Linked DNA regions of Homo sapiens: regions 2 and 3 are each linked to region 1. The links are contacts of gene promoters, found by promoter capture Hi-C in blood cells and fetal thymus (Javierre and others, 2016). All regions are on one chromosome and are shown on one strand. The core of a region is centred on a gene start or on the middle of the fragment in contact, and the rest is flanking DNA. Distances in the headings are between cores, read along the strand shown.

Region 1 (3,764 bases), core at 509-3,008:
CATGCCCTAATCAAACCCTGTTCTCCAGCAGAACCAAATGTCAGTCACATATACCACATTTAAAATTGCTTAGAATAGATAGGCTGGGCATGTGGTTTATGCCTATAATTCCAGTGCTTTGAGAAGCCGACGTGGAGGATCGCTTGAGGCAAGGAGTTTGAGACCAGCTTGGGCAACATAGCGAAACTCTGTCTGTCCAAAAAATTTTAAAATTAGCTGGGTATAGTGCTGCATGCCTATAGCCCTAGCTACTTGAAAGTCTGCAGAGGAAGGATCTCTTGAGCCCAGGAGTTTGAGGCTGCAGTGAGTTCTGATCATATCACTGCACTCCAGCCTGGGTGACAGAGTAAGACCCTGTCTCTAAAAAAAAACTAATAATAAAATAAAATGCTTGAAGGAGTGTCTTACTCATAATAAATGCTATATATTGGCTATTATTACTTTTATCCTATCACTTGCATTTGTATTTTAAGTCTCTCTAATTTAGATGGAAAGGTTTTGTCTGTATTACTGGAATTTGAAATATCAGTGAACAGATGTTGAAGAATATTTTGGGAGACTCCTGAAATAAGACTTTGTAGGCAACCACCTACTCACCAAGTCTAGCATGCTTTTTCTACTAAGGGCTGCACGCCCAGGCAGAAATTATCAAGCTTTCTTTGAACACCAAAGAAAGGTACACCTACTTGGCCAGCTGTGAAGGATTTTATATGGCTCATATGTGCTCAAACATCTATTTGCTGGATTCTAATATACATGTTAATTCAATCAAGATTGGGGTATCTACCCATGAGGGAGGGGAACTGAAGCCACCCCATGGAGATAATTCTACTCCCTTGGCCCAATCCTCATGCCACCTACCCTACTTCACCACATTTGCTGATTCGACATTTTATTCTTCTGCAATTATTTACTTCCCTGCACAAAAATGGAAATCTAAATACCATGATGGTCTCTGTGACAAAAAGTGAAAGGAAACTAACTGTTAGGAATAAAGGGAGATGAACATGCATTGACAGCTCTAATTATATAGATTGCTTATTTGTTTGGTTGTTTCTTAAGTGTTTCAAAACTCTTTCAGAATAAAAGTACTAGGCAAAAGGGGCATATGCCATACAGATTCAGAAAACTTGCTCAAGAAACACCATCATGTTTTTCCACCTCCCTACCTTCCCAGTGACATGTCACTATGACCTCGGTCTCCTGCTTTGCCCAGACTGCCCTCCACCTCGGAACAAACTGCTAGTACTGAGAGACCTCAAATCTATTATTGAATCCTACTCTCATTAGGCAAAAGAAAAAAGACTTCAGATGAAGAATTATGCAATACAAATCAATTGGGAGCCCATCTATCACTGGTCTTATTCCTGGAGAAGTCTTAGTATAATAGATAGAAGAACTCCACTCTTGAAATATTATTTTCCCTTTAGTCCTCTCTCTTAAACTGGGAAAATTCAAAGTCCCCACCATAATAAAGAAATAAGAGGGTTTTTTTTCTATTTTTCCCATTTCCCTATTCACTGCCCTTCCCTCACATGAGCTTGCTAAAGTTCATAGTCAAAATTCACGTCTGAAATAAAGAGGCTTGCAAAAGAAGCTCATGTAATCCCACTCCTTAAATACCACTAAGACACGTGAGATATTGTTTAGATTGTGGACTCTTACTTTGACATGCCAGCATAGGTAGATGGACAGGCAAGCACATCAGATGTCACTGTTTGGCAGCTGATAAAAGTCAGTGGTGCTATAATACTAAGCACAGAGCCACTAGATTAGTCTGTGAGGGAAGGAGATGCCTCTTCCTTCCCTTCAATAGTGGGTTAAACCCAGCTGGCACCCTCTGGAACTACGGGTAAGTCCCTTCTTTATTCCTACTACACTTTTAGGTCTTGTTTTTGTTTTTTGTCCAAATCAGATGAGTGTATACAAAGATGATTTTCAGATAAAAAGTTTGAAAGCCACAACATTATAATGGTATTACACAAAAATTTAAAGAGAAAGCGACTCATTCATTTCATTGAGACTGGAAGGCATTATACAAATGATAGAAGGAAAGATAGCTGTGTGTCATTATTTTTAAATCACCATTTTTCCTTGAAAAGGGACACTTGATCTGATGTAATTGTGGTGATGTCTTATGAACGCAACATATCCTCTATCAGTCTTCTGTGCAAGTCTATGCTATATTAGAGACAGGAAAAAAATGTTAAGATTTTTTAAAAAGGAGACTGAATAGTACTTTATTTATAAAAATCTTTGAAATTCATTTAACATTATTTGGAATAAAATGACCCTGTCATATAACAGAATCTATTATAGAATTAAATTGTTGAACAGTAACTACAAACATAAAGAAAATACAGGATCACCTGCGTAAATGTCTGCATAAAATTTTGACACATGGATAAAATGAAACTTATGAAATAACATATTTTTAATTGGGCTTTTAAAAATATCACTAATTATTAACAATGTAGGCCAATATCAACATGTACAAGACAGTTGCCATTCTGAAAATATATGTAAAGAAAAAAAGAGAACTGTTTCTGGAAAATATCTACTATTTCATAAGCGGTTTATTCCTTGCTATCTGAAATGAGTCTCAATAATGTACCTGCCCAGAAAGAAATTTAGGAATCAAACTCTGGATTCAATTCTGCAACAGACTGAATAAACCGATAACTACAAAACTACTTGCCTTGAAATAGACTTTTTTTTTAGATCTACTCAAGGCCCTCCTTCAGGATGTTTTTCCCCAACAATTTAAATGCCTAAAGTAGTTCATTTCTAAAATGCATTCTAGTTTAATGTATTTGTGTTCATAAACTTGAAATTAAGGAATATTTAACTTTTTAAGTATTCTTTCTCAATAGCGTCTTTCTCTTGGCTGTTTAGTTGCATTTCTGTTTTTTCCTAAAATTGCTAGTTTTAATTTAACTCTAAACTACATAGGCAACTTTGAAATACTATTTTTTGAAGGTATCCTATTATTTAGGATGAAACTCTTTGGTCTGGAAAAGTTTTATTAACATTTTATCCAAGACAGTAACTAAAATAATTAGAAGACTTCGTTTCAATGATGACAAACAATTTGGTTAATTTTTCAGTTAAAAGTTTGATTTGTCATTATCTCAGTATTGGCTTATACCAGATGAAACAAAATAGGCAAATGTATTTTGAATCAATTTATCTGATATTTTCAATGAAAACAGGATTAGTGTGAAAACAATTTATAGGACTAGTCTTTGTGTGTAATGTCTATATATAGTCCCGCTTAGGTTTACCATACTAATGGAAAAAAAATCAGAGACAAATATAATCCTTCAAGGTTGATTTTCATGGCAAATGTTTCATCTGAGAAAAAATGAGGATGTACTGTAGGAAGGCAGGAGGCCCACTACAGAGCTAAGTAGGAGGAATGGCACCTGTCTTTTCTTGGTAAGGTATAGACTAGTTTCATATGTGTCTTATTTACTTCTATGCTTCCTGTTTGCCATTTGAAAAGAAAAAGTAAAAGAGCTAAAGCAATTTCAAAATTAGTCTGAGATCTCCAAAGGTGTGGCAAAAAAAAGAAAAAAAAGACCAAAAAACAAAATTAGTCTAAAATACATACTAAACAAATAATAAAAAGTAAAACTCTAGATAATTAAAAGAACATCAAGACCAACAACTAGGAAGTATAATCTAAAAATAACAGAATTATAAGGTATGATTCTGTTTAAAAATACATAATAAAAACAGAAAAATGTATAAGTGGCTCTGGA
Region 2 (3,764 bases), core at 518-3,017, 52 kb after region 1:
ACTTTGTATGTCTTGTGATTTTGTGATTTTTAAAAAATTCAAACCAGGCTGGGTGTGGTGGCTCACATTTTGGAGCCATTGCACTTTGGGAGCCTCCTAGCAGTTTGGGAGGCCAAGGCAAGTGGATCACTTGGGCCCAGCAGTTTGAGACCAGTCTGGGAAACTAAGGGAGACCATGTCTGTACAAAAAATAAAAAATAATAAAAATTCAAACCAGACATTTGAATCTAATAATGTGATAATTTTGAAAATCAGATTCTTCCCCTTGCCCAGGGTTTGCCATTTTTTGTTCTTATTTTTTATTTTTATAGTCTGGCTCCATGCCAAGGATCACCCTGAGTTGTGCACTTAAGGTCTTCTCAGGTTTTCCTCAGCCTATGCCTTTCCCTGGGCATGCACAATGACTTTTTAACTTACCCTTGATATGGAGTTGGTTTTGAATGTCCTATTCTTTAATGTCTGGATCCCAAAAAAGGAAAAGAGAAGAATAAAGTGAGAGGTAGGGGAAGATAACAGCCCTTTAAATCCCAAGGACATTACTTCAGCTGAAGGACGATGGTCTTGCAACAATGGAGGAGATGCAACAATGGCTGCCCACCTCAGTGTCTGCATCCCCACGATCAGAAGCAGCAATCAGCAATCACCACATAGATCCCCAATATTTGAAAGACATAGTATTTATTCCCCACATGGCTCCCATAAGCTACATGCAAGCTGCTTCACAAACATGTGCATGGATCCCAGCCATGAGGCTAATGAGTAGGGGATGCATAGCTATTGAGATAAAAGCTGAAATTGTCCAAAATTAACAGCAATTTACTGTCCAAGCCTTTCCCTGGAAGTTGCAGGCCTTCTTCAATAGACTCTAGAGTTCCAAAGTAGTACATCTGACAGATTCTGCCCATGTAATTGTTGTCTAGATGGGGACAGGGGAGAAATAAGTTTCCCATGGTTCTCTTCCACCTTCCAAGAATCTTTTTTTTTTTTTTTCCTGATCCAGACGAAATAGTTGAGAAACTGTGTTGCTGGCCATCTCTCAGGAAGGAGACAGAGGCAAGGTCCAGGGCCTGCACAATGTGTGTGTGTGTGTGTGTGTGTGAGTGTGTGTGTGTGTGTGTAGGGAGAGGACCATCTAGTCACCTTTCTATACATCAAGCAGGGAGCCTGAATTGCTACACCCTCAAGTTAAAGATGAATCTCTTGTAGTGACCCAATCAATGACTTCAAGAGAGAGACTGGAAAGTCTTATTAATGACAAATGGCATGTTCTTTTGAAACATACTTTTAGTTATTTTAATTCAATAAGGGAGAACTCTATCTAAAGTTAACAGGGCCATCAAAAAGTTACAAAACAGTATTTTCATTCAATATAACCCTGTATGTTGAGGCGTCATGGTGCTTTTAGCTTGCAAAAAAGAAACAAAATGGATAAACTAAGCTCTAATTAAGAAAAGAGACACTGTATTTGGAGCCTCCAGTTTCGATGAGATTCTAACCATTCAGTAAATGCTTCAGTTTTTGTCATTCTCCCTATTACAGAGCAGAAGTATCTTAACACTTTCCTAACAGAAAAGGGCTGAATGGAAGCTTTGGTTACTAAGCTAACATCTGGAGAGGAGAAAAGAATGAGAATGGTTCCTTCATCTTTTTTTTTTTCCCCAACTCAAAGATGAAAGATCATGGCAGAAACACTAAAACAGAACCTCTTATTCTCCTATGCCAGAAAAAATATTTGATTTGTGGTGAGACTTTCCACCAATTCCTTCCAATTCAGTATTTTCTCTATCTTATGTAGGAAAGCATTACAAACCAGTATTAAAAGCAAGATAAATACTTTAGGTATGATTTGGTCAGGTCTCAGCTAGGTACCGTGGATGGAATCTCAGATAACTCTGAGTCCTAGGACTTCATGTAGCCCATTTCTTTGAATGCTTTTTCTTCCTTCATTAAAGCTTTTTGCTCCTTTTATGTGATTGGCAAAAGCAATAAGGGACAAGCAGGCTTTCTCCCTTTTCACTGACCAATTACGCAGTTATCAACATACGATTAAACATTTGTTTCCACGCGCCTGTAATTCCAGCACTTTGGGAGCCCAAGGCGGGTGGATCACCTAAGGTCAGGAATTTGAGACCAACCTGGTCAACGTGGTGAAATCCTGTCTCTACTAAAAATACAAAAATTAGCCAGGCATGGTGGCATGTGCCTGTCATCCCAGCTACTCAAGAGAGGCTGATGAGGCAGGAGAATCGCTTGAACCGGGAAGATGGAGATTGCAGTGAGCCAAGATCCCACCACTGCACTCCAGTCTGCGTGATAAGAGTGAAACACCGTCTCAAAAAAAAATTTTTTTCCAAATTTCCTCATAAAGAACACACACACATAATTTAAACTGATATTCCTGATACGTCCAGTGAGACCACTGCAAGTTAATAATGAGAAAATAAAATAAGATTTTCAAGTTAGAAAATTCTAATTCTACTTGTTACTACTGTGCTACTCAAAGTCTTAATTTCTTCATTTTTCATCTTTAAAATTAGAAAAAGGAAGGTTTGAAATATTTTAAGTGGTATTTCATATCAAACCAGGCTATCAAAGAGGGTAAAATAGGGCCGGGCACAGTGGCTCATGCTTGTAATCCCAGCACTTTGGGAGGTTAAGGCAGGTGGATCATGAGGTCAGGAGTTCGAGACCAGCCTGGACAAGATGGTGAAACCCCATCTCTACTAAAAATACAAAAATTAGCTGGGCGTGGTGGCACACGCCTGTAGTCCCAGCTACTCAGGAGGCTGAGGCAGGAGAATTGCTTGAACCCGGGAGGCAGAGGTTGTGGTGAGCCGAGATCGTGCCATTGCACTCCAGCCTGGGCGACAAGAGCGAAACTCCATCTAAAAAAAAAAAAAAATCACAAAGAGGGTAAAATAAACCTTAGGATCATGTTGAGTATTATTATCAGCACTTGAGACTAGCAAGTGACAAATTGTTGGCATCCCTATTTTATCAGAATTTAAGAGTTGGTTAAGACAAAAATTCACTTCACTGACATTAGAAAGTTTAGGGCTCTTGGGTCTAAACCTTCTACAAGTTGAAAAATCACTTGTTGAACCAATTCAAAGTTCTAATGTTTAGAAGGGCACAGGCACAGCCGGCCAAGGAGGCCACTGCCAAAACCAGTTAGTAAACAGGTATCTCAGGTTCAAATGTTATAGGTGGGCTGGGTGTGGTGGCTCATGCCTGTAATCCCAGCACTTTGGGAGGCCGAGGTGGGCGGATCACTTGAGGCCAGGAGTTTGAGATCAGCCTGGCCAACATGGTGAGGCTGTCTCTACTAAAAATACAAAAAAAGTAGCTGGGCATGGTGGTGCACACCTGTAATCCCAGCTACTTGGGAGTCTGAGGCAGGAGTATTGCCTGAACCTGGAAGACAGAGGTTGCAGTGAGCCGAGATAGCACCACTGCACTCTAGCCTGGGCGACAGAGTTTGACTGTCTCAAAGAAAAAAAAAAAAAAGTTATAGATGAACACTGAGTTCACATTCATTAAAGCGGTCATTTCCTACATTACCTATTCAGCTATCGAGGTACCTTAAGTCTTTCCTTTAGGGGAATTTTCTACATCCAATTTTACACAACTCTGTACTAACATAATTAAAGTCAGAAAGCATATACCATATGCTGCTAGATATCCTCTTAGAGACATTAGTAACTCCCATCAGTTGTCATGTATGTACATAAAGGTATATATTTTCTACTGTTTTTCTTTCTTAA
Region 3 (3,764 bases), core at 634-3,133, 55 kb before region 1:
ATCATGCCACTGAACTCCAGCCTGGGCAACAGAGAGAGATTCCATCTCAAAAACAAAAAGAAAAGAAAAGAAATATGATGCTAGTTGTCATTACTAAAATGATTCTGATCAAACAATTTGATGTGGTTTAGATGTGTGTCTCCTCCAAATCTCATGTTGGAAAGTGATACCCAGTGTTGAAGGTGGGGCCTGATGGGAGGTGTTGGATCATGGGGGCAGATCCCTTATGAATGGCTTAGTGCCACTGCCTTGGTGATGAGTGAGTTCTTGCTCTGTTAGTTCAGGTGAACTGGTTGTTTAAGGAGTCTGGCACCTCCTCCTCTCTCTTGCTTCCTCTCTTGCCATGTCATATGCCAGCTCCCCCTTCACCTTCCACTATGACTGTAAGCTTCTTGAGGCCTCACCAGAAGCTGAGCAGATGCTGGTGCTATGCCTATACAGCCTGTAGAACCATGGGCCAAATAAACCTCTTTTCTTTAAAAATTACCCAGCTTCAGGTATTCCTTTATAGCAACTCAGAACAAACTAACACACCACCAAAAGCAGGAAAGGGCATCAAATTCTAATATTCCTCCTTCCTCTCACCCACATACATATACCCAATCTCCTCTAATTCCGACTTCCACCCTGAACATGCAGAAGAGATCTCCTGTATATGACTAAATAGTATGGCATTCTTTCCTTGATAAGAGCAATTTCCTTCCATAAAGATGTTTTGTTTTTTCTTTTCAACTTTTCTTGAGCAAATGGTATAACTATCAATAATAGTCTTTCTTGTGTTTATTTTTACCTCAAAAAAGTAGTGAATTAAATGTATTTTTAATGCATGCCTTCACCTTTAAGGGGCTTACATTCTGACAGGTAGGCAAACACAAGTCTATAAGTAGCTACTTCGAGAAGAAGGTATAATGGAAACATAAACCAAGTATTGTGGGTAAAAGTCTTTTATATGAGAGGAAACATGGAAAGACTTCAGAAAATCAGCCTTTATTTCCTCTATTTTTGCAGTGTTTGTGGATAATTCATATCAATTTGGTCTATTGTTGAACAAGCTGGTATATGAAATAAGGTCTTACCTCCCTCTCTCCAGTTGCCAGATGAGCCTTTTAGGAGACTGGACTTTCTTTTTTTTTTTTTTTTTAATTATTATACTTTAAGTTTTAGGGTACATGTGCACATTGTGCAGGTTAGTTACATATGTATGTATACATGTGCCATGCTGGTGCGCTGCACCCACTAACTCGTCATCTAGCGAGCATTGGGAAGGGTATATCTCCCAATGCTATCCCTTCCCCCTCCCCCCACCCCACAGCAGTCCCCAGAGTGTGATGTTCCCCTTCCTGTGTCCATGTGATCTCACTGTTCAATTCCCACCTATGAGTGAGAATATGCGGTGTTTGGTTTTTTGTTCTTGCGATAGTTTACTGAGAATGATGATTTCCAATTTCATCCATGTCCCTACAAAGGACATGAACTCATCATTTTTTATGGCTGCATAGTATTCCATGGTGTATATGTGCCACATTTTCTTAATCCAGTCTATCATTGTTGGACATTTGGGTCGGTTCCAAGTCTTTGCTATTGTGAATAATGCCGCAATAAACATACGTGTGCATGTGTCTTTATAGCAGCATGATTTATAGTCCTTTGGGTGGAGACTGGACTTTCATGTTTGCCAGATAGTCCTGGAAACAGGTTCCCCTAACCAGCACTCCAAAAACCTCCTATCCCCCAACCTCAAATCATTTTGGATTGAGAATAATTTCTCATATCTTTAAAAGCTTCTAGAAAAGAAGACTATTAGTGGAATGAATAAGTGTTTATGCCCTAAAAGAATTAGTAAACTATCCTGAATATGTCTGTCCAGTAAACCAGAGCTGAATGAGAAAATGCTAAAACATTCTTGCAACAAGTCCCCTAAGTTTCTTCTCTGCCTGAACAGCATAGTTCATCAGCCTAATAAACAGAGTCAATCTCTCTTCCTGTAAGCTTTGTTTTTTGTAGAATAATAAATCAAGAAAAATATATTAAGCCCTTACTATATACTTAGCTCTGCATTTGGAATAGAAAAAGTACAAGACACAGCTTTAAAGAATTTACAACCAAGCTGAGGCTTTAAAGCATTTACAATATACCAGGGGAGTAATTCAATGTGTTGGTTTTGAAGTCTTTCCTTCTTTTTTTAATTTACTTTTTTAAATTACAGTATAGGTGACAAAAATTATATATATTTACAGTGAACAATGTGTTTTGATATATGGATAATGTTATGAAATGGTTAAATCAAGCTAATTAACATATCCATCATCTCACATACTTATCACTTTCTGTTGTGAGAACATTTAAGATCTACTCTCTTAGCAATTTTCAAGAATCCAATACATTGCTATTAACTGCAGTCACCATGATAGACAATAGATCTCTTGTACTCATTTCTTCTGTCTGAAATTTGGAAACTTTGACCAGTATCTCCCCAGTTCCACAACCACCCCTCAGCTCCTGGTAACCACCATTCTACTCTCTGTTTCTATGAGTTCGACTTTTTAAGATTCCACATAAAACTAAGATCATGTAGCATTTGTCTTTCTGTGCCCGGCTTATTTCACTTAGCATAATGTCCTCCAGGTTCATCTATACTGTTGCAAATGACAGGATTTCCTTCTTTTTAAAAGCCAAATAGTATACCATTGTATATATATCTGTGTATGTGTCTGTATGTGTGTCACATTTTTTCATTATCCATTCATCCATTGATGGACATTTAGGTTGATTCCATATCTTGGCTATTATGAATAATGCTGCAACGTACATGAGAGTACAGATATCTCCCTGATATGCTGATTTCAATTCCTTTGGATATATACCCACGAATGGTATTGCTGGAGCATATGGTAGTTCTAATTTTAATTTTTTGAGGAACCTCCATACTGTTTTCCATAATGGCTGTACTAATTTACATTCCCATCAACATGTACACAGGGGTTCCAAAGGCTTCTCTTCAGGCTAGGTTGAAAGCTGACTAAAGGAAAGTTAAGGGTAACTGAAGGCAGAGTTAATATCAAAGGAGGACTCAACTTACCTTTATACCCATAAGTGAGAATATATTGAGAGAAGAGGAAGCATCCTAGATGAAGGAAGAAGAGGGGAGTATTTCAAGACTGATTATTTCCAGGAATCCCTAAAATCCTTCCTGAAGCCACCCATGCAATAAATGTGATCATGCAATAAATTGAAGACAGAAGAAGAAGAATACTTCCGGTTGGATAAGGGAGGCAAGGCAGGTCTCTTTCTCCTGTTTCTGTGCCCAAATCAAGCTCCTTGTTGAGGCTGGGATAGTGTTTCCCCTGAGGGAATGAAAAGATGTGTGATGTTAGTGACAGAAGTATATCTGTTGTATCTGGTCATTGACTGTTTCCTGCTATTCTCTATTTTAGGTAGATAAACCTGTTCTCAGCTAGACTGTGAACTTTCAAAGACCTGTCCTAGGCATGGAAAAAGAATTTAATACATATAGATCTTGAAAGTTACTTCTTTAAAAACCAAGTTAGGGCCAGGCACAGTGGCTCACACCTGTAATCCCAGCACTCTGGGAGGCCAAGGCAGGAGGATCCCTTGAACCAGGAGTTTGAGATCAGCCTGGACAACACAGCAAGACCCTATCTCCACAAAAACAATTTAAAAATTAGCCAGGCATGGTGGCATGCACCTAGCTAACCAGGAGGCTGAGGCAGGAGGATCACTTAAGCCCAGGAGTTCGAGATTAC

The links. The method cuts DNA at HindIII sites, captures the fragments that hold promoters and counts their contacts. A CHiCAGO score of 5 or more calls a contact.
Region 2: a fragment that was not itself captured here is called in contact with the fragment with the promoter of MYOT in region 1 in 1 of 17 cell types (naive B cells); the score reaches 5.1 in naive B cells.
Region 3: a contact is called between a fragment that was not itself captured here and the fragment with the promoter of MYOT in region 1, in 3 of 17 cell types (M1 macrophages, M2 macrophages and naive B cells). The highest score is 6.4, in M1 macrophages.

Annotation. Positions count from the first base shown.
Region 1 is chr5:137,866,102-137,869,865 of GRCh38, forward strand. MYOT (myotilin) reads left to right here and starts at 1,759. Exons shown (of 10, transcript NM_006790.3): 1 at 1,759-1,852. All of the region lies in intron 2 of PKD2L2-DT (PKD2L2 divergent transcript), which reads right to left. The HindIII fragment of the contact is 5,979 bases long and covers 652-3,764 here.
Region 2 is chr5:137,917,870-137,921,633 of GRCh38, forward strand. The region is part of intron 8 of PKD2L2 (polycystin 2 like 2, transient receptor potential cation channel); the gene reads left to right. Among named protein-coding and RNA genes, the nearest start is that of PKD2L2, 30 kb to the left of the region's middle. The HindIII fragment of the contact is 365 bases long and covers 1,586-1,950 here.
Region 3 is chr5:137,811,254-137,815,017 of GRCh38, forward strand. No RefSeq gene overlaps it. Among named protein-coding and RNA genes, the nearest start is that of MYOT, 55 kb to the right of the region's middle. The HindIII fragment of the contact is 208 bases long and covers 1,780-1,987 here.